Linked DNA regions of Homo sapiens: region 1 is linked to region 2. The links are contacts of gene promoters, found by promoter capture Hi-C in blood cells and fetal thymus (Javierre and others, 2016). All regions are on one chromosome and are shown on one strand. The core of a region is centred on a gene start or on the middle of the fragment in contact, and the rest is flanking DNA. Distances in the headings are between cores, read along the strand shown.

Region 1 (3,442 bases), core at 564-3,063, 170 kb before region 2:
AAGAGGCACTGCAGACGGAGGTGTGGGTCTTCCCAGGCAGGTGCCGGAGCCAAGCGAGATGGTGGGACGGGGAAGAGAGGGCAGGCCAGGCTGGCAGCCAGCTCTCCACCTACGATGCGTGGAGCCTCCCAACTCGCGCACTCCGTCTCCCCACCGCTGCTTCCTCTGACCTGGCTGCAGAGATGAGACCGCCCTCCGGGCAGGTGACACGGCCCTTGCTCTTCAGCCTGGAGGCCAATGCTTCCTCCAAAGGCCCTGGCCCCCTCAGCTCCGGGCCTGGCTCCGGTTGTTCCCAATGCAAAGCAGCAAGGGCCCCGGGGTCTGCGGACGGGGGCGGGCGGCCGCTGGGGGCACCAGCTCTCGGCCGGGCCAGAACAGGGGGTAGGAGGCGCGTCCTGTGCGGTCGGTGGCGGCCCCAGGTGGGTGCGGTGCGCTGGCAGGAAGCGGCAGCACGACCCCCGACTTTGCATCTGGACTTTTCTAGTAACGGACCAGCTCCTTCTGCCGACCGGGCCGGGGAGACCGCGTGGCTCAGTGGCTGCAGCGGCCACCGGCCCGGGCGTGGGGGCTTTGAGGGCACCGGCGCGGTAGGTCACCCGGGTTTCGCGGGCCGCAAGCTCGGAGACGCGCGTGTCCCGCGTTGGCTGCCTGACCCGGAATGGCGCAGCCCCTTCGCCTCCAGCGCGCTGGTTGAAAGGATCCGAGCCACCCTCGGGGACGGCCGGGCCGAGGCCACCTCGCGGGGCGGCCTTGGGCGGGGACCCGGACCCGCGGTTGGACGTTCGCCTCGGGGGGGGCAATGTCCCCTCTCCGACCCCGCGGTCCCCACCAGGGCGGCACACCCCGCCCTCTCCCCGCCTCCGCAGGCGCCCAGGGCTCACAGGCTCGGAGCGGCCTCCGCCTCTGCCGGACCACCCAGGGCCGCCCCGCCGGAGGGGCCTCCCCGCCCCCGAGCCCTAGGTCACGCCCGGAAGGCCCGGGGCCCCCGCGTCCGGCCACGCCATCCGCCCGGCGGCCCCAGGGACTCAGCGCCGGGGTCAGCGCAGGCCCCGCCCAGCGCTCCCGCCCCCTCCAGCTGGCCGGCCCCCGGGACCGCGCCCCCGCCCGCGCTCTCCACGCTCGCACTCGTATGGGCAGGGCGGCCCGGGGTCCCCCAGCTCCGAGCCGCGGCCCCTTGAAGCGCGTTACCTGGACGTGCGCTGTCCGCAGACTCTGGACGAGCTGGGCCTGGGCGCTGCGCGGCGGAACCGACCCTGTCCTGGACCGCAGGCAGCAGCTGACCCCGCGCCACCGGCCTGCGGGCGAGACCTCAGGCGCGAGACGGGCTGTGTGTGTGTGTGTGTGTGTGAGAGAGAGAGAGAGAGAGAGAGAGAGAGAGAGAGAGAGAGAGAGTGTGTGTGTGTGTGTGTGTGTGTGTGTGTGTGTGTGTGTGTGTCGGGGGAGGGGCCCGAGGACCCGCTTCCTAGCTGAGCGTCAGGACGGGGGGCGGACTCTCAGGAGCCGCGCGGCGCCCGCAGAGGAGAGGAAGCGCCGGAGACCCCCCTGCTCCCACCCGGCCTCCCTGCCCCGCTTCCTTTCCCGGGGCTCCAGAGAGGGGAGCTCCAGGCGTGGGGCGCCTGGCCCACGTGGTGCGGCGCCGGGCGGGGCAGGCGGGGGCGCGGCGAGAGCCGCGGAGCTTTCTTTATGGGTGGGGGGGCGGGGGCGGCCGGGCTCCGCCTCCGGGGGATCGGGGCGCGCTCCGCCAATGGGTAGCCGGGCGCGGGGCGGGGCCGCGGGGCCGCCGCTTAAAGAAACTTGTTGCGGGTCCCGCAGCGGGACCCGAGCCTCGGCGGCGGCGGCGGCGGCGGCAGGGGCGAGGGTCGGGGCCACCGCGCGGCGACCTCGGGTCCCGGAGCGACCGCAGGGCAGCCCCGGGCGCCGGCCCCGGTGCGCGTCTCCTGTGCGCGCCCCTCCGCGCGCGGCCCCGATGCTGGACATGAGCGAGGCCCGCTCCCAGCCGCCCTGCAGCCCGTCCGGCACCGCCAGCTCCATGTCGCACGTGGAGGACTCGGACTCGGACGCGCCGCCGTCTCCCGCCGGCTCCGAGGGCCTGGGCCGCGCGGGGGTCGCGGTGGGGGGCGCCCGGGGCGACCCGGCGGAGGCGGCGGACGAGCGCTTCCCGGCCTGCATCCGCGACGCCGTGTCGCAGGTGCTCAAGGGCTACGACTGGAGTCTGGTGCCCATGCCGGTGCGCGGCGGCGGCGGCGGCGCGCTCAAAGCCAAGCCGCATGTGAAGCGGCCCATGAACGCATTCATGGTGTGGGCGCAGGCGGCGCGCCGCAAGCTGGCCGACCAGTACCCGCACCTGCACAACGCCGAGCTCAGCAAGACGCTGGGCAAGCTGTGGCGGTGAGTGCCGGCGCCCCGGGGGCGGGGTTCGGGACCTTGGCCGCCCCTGGTCTCGGACTGCGAGCGGGGGCCTGGAGGGCGCAGAGCTCGCGGAGGTGGTGGCCACACGCAGGCTCCGGGCTCTGCACCCCGGGCGGGTGTCAGGGCGGGTCCCAGTGGAAAAACATCCTCTGGCCAGCCGGGGTCCGGCGCCAGCTATGGGAGTCGGGATCCGCGGAGGGCAGCGCCTGGGGTGTGCACCCTCGTGGCGGGTGCGCTCTGGAGCCAGTTCTCCTGGCGGGGAACACCCTGCGGAGGGCCATGGCTGGCACCCCGACGTGCCCTCCAGCCGTTGCGAGTGGCCCCAGCCCCGGGAGGCACGCCCGGCACGACAGCAAGTTGCATGCGGCTCTCTGGAGGTGCTCCCTCCTTAGAAAGGGCTCAGCTCCTCTAGCTCCTGGACCACCCATGGGGAGGGAGTGCGGCAGGCGGATGGGTGGGCAGCAGGTTTGCCTGCGAGTACCCTCCCCGCAGTTTCTCCCTCTCCTGGACACCCTCGGTCCGAAGCAGGGAGGGCAGGAGTGGAGATGACGGGGTGCGCCGTGTGCACGCCTTGGCGTGGTGGGGCCGGTCAGTTTTCCAGAAATTAGGACTGCAGAGTGAAGAACTTGTTGCTCAGGACAGGCCGCCCCCACCGAGTGTCCTCTGGTTGGGTTTCAAATGGTTCTCTTGGTTTGGGGCTCTGGTTCCCGTATCCTGCTCCTCACCTGGAAGAAGGGAGCTTGGAGCTTGCGTATTTGCACCTCCTGCCTTCTGTCTGGATCTAGGGCGCAGCCACGGGGCGCTGTGGACGGCAGGCCCCTGCTCCCCCAAGTCCTGCCGCACAGGCGGTTGGAGGTGAGCCTCGGGAAGAGTCCCAAGGAGTGTGTCCTGTGGCTCAGTGAGGACGGGCGCCTGGGCCCTGCCAGGGCTTCTGGGTGTCTGGGAATGGAGGGACAGCAGCCCAGCTGCCCGCCGAAGGCCGGCACCGTTCCCGGGAAGCCTCGCTTTTGTCCACCGCCGGCTGGGTCCTGCC
Region 2 (3,227 bases), core at 677-3,176:
TGCAGTGGCGTGATCTCGGCTCACTGCAACCTCTGCCTCCTGGGTTCAAGTGATTCTCCTCCCTCAGCATCCCGAGTAGCGGGGATTACAGGCATATGTCACCATGCCTGGCTAATTTTTGTATTTTAGTAGAGACGGGATTTCACCATGTTGGTCAGGCTGGTCTCGAACTCCTGACCTCAAGTGATCCACACACCTCGGCCTCCCAAAGTGCTGGGATTACAGGCGTGAGCCACTGCACCTGGCCCACCCTAACTTTTAACGAGCAGGGTGTTGATAAAAAGATCAGAGGTTCCAAGTGCCCTCTGGACCGGACTCCGATTCAGCGTTTGTGTCTCCCCACCTGCTCCAGCCTCCCTCCACGGATGTGTCCAAAGCACGGGGCTCTCCTAGGTCCTGCTCCTCTGTGGCTGGAACCTTAATTGGACCTTTGAAGGCCTAATTCACCAGCTGTGGCCCTCCATCGCTGAGTAGTTGCATTAAAATAGACTGAATGTTTTCCTTTTCTTGAAAGTTCCCGTATACAGGAGGAGGTGCTGCTGAAAGGACCTGTACCCCAGCCAGGCCCCCACACTCCTGCCTTCCAGTTCCTCGGCCCACCCCAGGTGCTGTGTGTCCTTCCGGGCCCCAGCTGGGCAGGGCCTCTTCTTCACCCTGCACGATGTGGCCCACCCGGGGGAGGTCCTGCTTCTCTGCTGCTCACCCGCAGGTGGGAAGCCACAGCCGCCCCACAGCCTCTCCGGGTCTGGGGTCTCAGGGTGCGCCCTGGAGCAGGGCCTCTTTGTCTGGAGGGAGAAGGGGTCTCTCCCACTACCAGGGGCCCCTTGTTGGCGGGCGTGCTGAGGTGCACACCTGGGAGCTCAAGCTCCCTGGTGCACAAAGCAGTGGTCCCAGAAGCAAAACCACCCTTCCAGCCTGGAGGGGTGCCCTGGGGGGAGTCAGGAGCCTGGGCACCTGCCCCCACCTGCTGGCACCTCGAGGTGCGGCCAGCCCTCCCTGGGACAAGGGCCTGGCCATCCCCAATGTCTGAAGGGTCCACCCCTTCCCGACCAAACCACTTGCTCTGAGGGTCCAGGGGAAGGCCCTTCTGCTGGCCTGGCTGAAGGAGCAGCTGCTGGCAGGGGGAAGGGGCCTGCACTTCTCCTCGGGGGCCCCTGGGTGAGTCTCGCTGAGGCAGCGGGGTTGGAGGATGCAGGAGCACCAGGCTGCCGTCCCCAGGGTCCCCCAGATCCCCACGCGGGAGGGGACCGGAGACGAGGACAAGTTCGCGGAAACTGCCCGTGCGTGTCGGGGAGAGATGCGAGTGCAGGAGCGCCCAGCCGTAAAGCACACCCCCGCCCGCCCCCGCGCCCCATCACACACGCGCGCGCGGGCACACCCGGGACACACACGCGGCGGGGAAGGGGCACGCAGCCTCTCGCCTTCCACGCCCGCCCGGTCCCCGCCCCTCCGCCGACCCGGGCCCGCGTCGTAGTGGGGGTGGGGGTGGGGGCGGCGGCGGCGCGCGCGGCAGCGCGAAGGGGGAGGGGGAGCCGGAGCGGGAGGGGGAGGGGCGCGGCATCGGCGGCTCGGCCGCCCCCGCAGTTGGGGGCAGGGAAGGACGTAGGTGCTCCCCCTCCCACCCCGCCGGAGCCTCCCGCGAGCGCCCCCTGGTGCACCCCACGCCCGGCATTGTTGGGGAGCACGAAAAGCGGGGAGCCCAGTGCGGGGGCGTGGAGGGGGCGCGGGCGGGGTCCAACTTCCCGCACCCGGGGGGGGGCGGGGCGCCGGGCGGCGACAGGGAGGGGTCGCTCGGGCGCGCGCGTCTCGGGCCGGGGGCGGATCCTCCCCAGTACCCCCCCGCCCGCCCCGCCCCCGGCCCCGCCCCGGCCACGCTGGCCCCGCCCCGGTCGCGCCGGCCCCGCCCCGCCCCGCCCCCCGCCGCTCAGCCCGAAGTTTCCTGCGCCGCGCGCGGACGGGCTCGAGGCTCGCTCGCTGCCTCACCGGTCCCCGGCCCGCGCCCCGCGCCCCGCGCCCCGCGCCCCGGCCTCACCCGTCCGCTCAGCGGCCTCCACGCCGCGCCGAGGCCGCCGCCGTCGCCTCCGCCGGGCGAGCCGGAGCCGGAGTCGAGCCGCGGCCGGGAGCCGGGCGGGCTGGGGACGCGGGCCGGGGGCGGAGGCGCTGGGGGCCGGGGCCGGGGCCGGGGGCGGAGGCGCTGGGGGCCGGGGCCGGGGCCGGGCGCCGAGCGGGGTCCGCGGTGACCGCGCCGCCCGGGCGATGCCCGCGGGGACGCCGCCGGCCAGCAGAGCGAGGTGAGACGCGGCGAGGACGCGCGCCCGGGACCCTCTTCAACTTGCGCGAAGCGGGCCGGGGAGCCCCTCGGGGTGGGGGTGGGGCCGCTGGAGGGAGGGAGGGGGCGGGCGGGGGCGGGGGGCGCGTTTGTCTCTAATAAGAAAAGACAAAGACATCCCGGCGGCCGCGGCTGTTCCCGCAGCTCCGCGCCGCGGGAGGCAGGGCGGGGGCGTCGCCACCGGCCCCGGGTCACCCCCTGTCCTCTGCAGGTGCTGCCGGCCGCCACCATGACCGAGGGCGCACGGGCCGCCGACGAGGTCCGGGTGCCCCTGGGCGCGCCGCCCCCTGGCCCTGCGGCGTTGGTGGGGGCGTCCCCGGAGAGCCCCGGGGCGCCGGGACGCGAGGCGGAGCGGGGGTCCGAGCTCGGCGTGTCACCCTCCGAGAGCCCGGCGGCCGAGCGCGGCGCGGAGCTGGGTGCCGACGAGGAGCAGCGCGTCCCGTACCCGGCCTTGGCGGCCACGGTCTTCTTCTGCCTCGGTCAGACCACGCGGCCGCGCAGCTGGTGCCTCCGGCTGGTCTGCAACCCATATCCTTCCCGGCCGGCGGGGGGCGGGGGGCGGGGGGCGTGGGGAGGGTGGGGGCCCGGGGCGCGGGACTCCCTCGGCATGCGCCCCCGCGCGCCCCTGTTGGTGGGACCTGGCGTGGGCCGGGCGCGCGGGGGTGCAGGGCAGGGGCTGGAGGACCGCGCTCTAATTTCTGAGAGTGGCGGGCTTGGGGGGCCACCGGGCGCCTCCGGACTCCCTTCCCCAGGGCCGGCTCCGGACGGAGAAGGTGGAAGCGAAGCGGTGAGGCCCCCGCGGGCTTGGAGGGGAGAGGAGTCGGGGAGGGAGGGAAGGTCCTAACTCCTCGCGGCCCCAAGGGTGTTGGCCAGGACGGGAATTTCCCCCTTGCCCACC

Evidence for each region. Contacts are between HindIII fragments. The CHiCAGO score rates a contact against its expected background, and 5 or more counts as called.
Region 1: the fragment with the promoter of SOX8 here is called in contact with the fragment with the promoter of CACNA1H in region 2 in 1 of 17 cell types (erythroblasts); the score reaches 6.6 in erythroblasts.

The regions. Positions count from the first base shown.
Region 1 is chr16:979,957-983,398 of GRCh38, forward strand. SOX8 (SRY-box transcription factor 8) reads left to right here and starts at 1,814. Exons shown (of 3, transcript NM_014587.5): 1 at 1,814-2,388. The coding sequence starts at 1,967. It overlaps CEROX1 (cytoplasmic endogenous regulator of oxidative phosphorylation 1), which reads right to left and starts at 1,657. Exons shown (of 3, transcript NR_164343.1): 1 at 1-1,657. It also overlaps a transcript of LMF1 not described here. The HindIII fragment of the contact is 6,393 bases long and covers 1-3,442 here.
Region 2 is chr16:1,151,180-1,154,406 of GRCh38, forward strand. CACNA1H (calcium voltage-gated channel subunit alpha1 H) reads left to right here and starts at 1,927. Exons shown (of 35, transcript NM_021098.3): 1 at 1,927-2,291; 2 at 2,541-2,857. The coding sequence starts at 2,559. RefSeq lists enhancers at 826-1,406, 2,781-3,227. The HindIII fragment of the contact is 9,021 bases long and covers 1-3,227 here.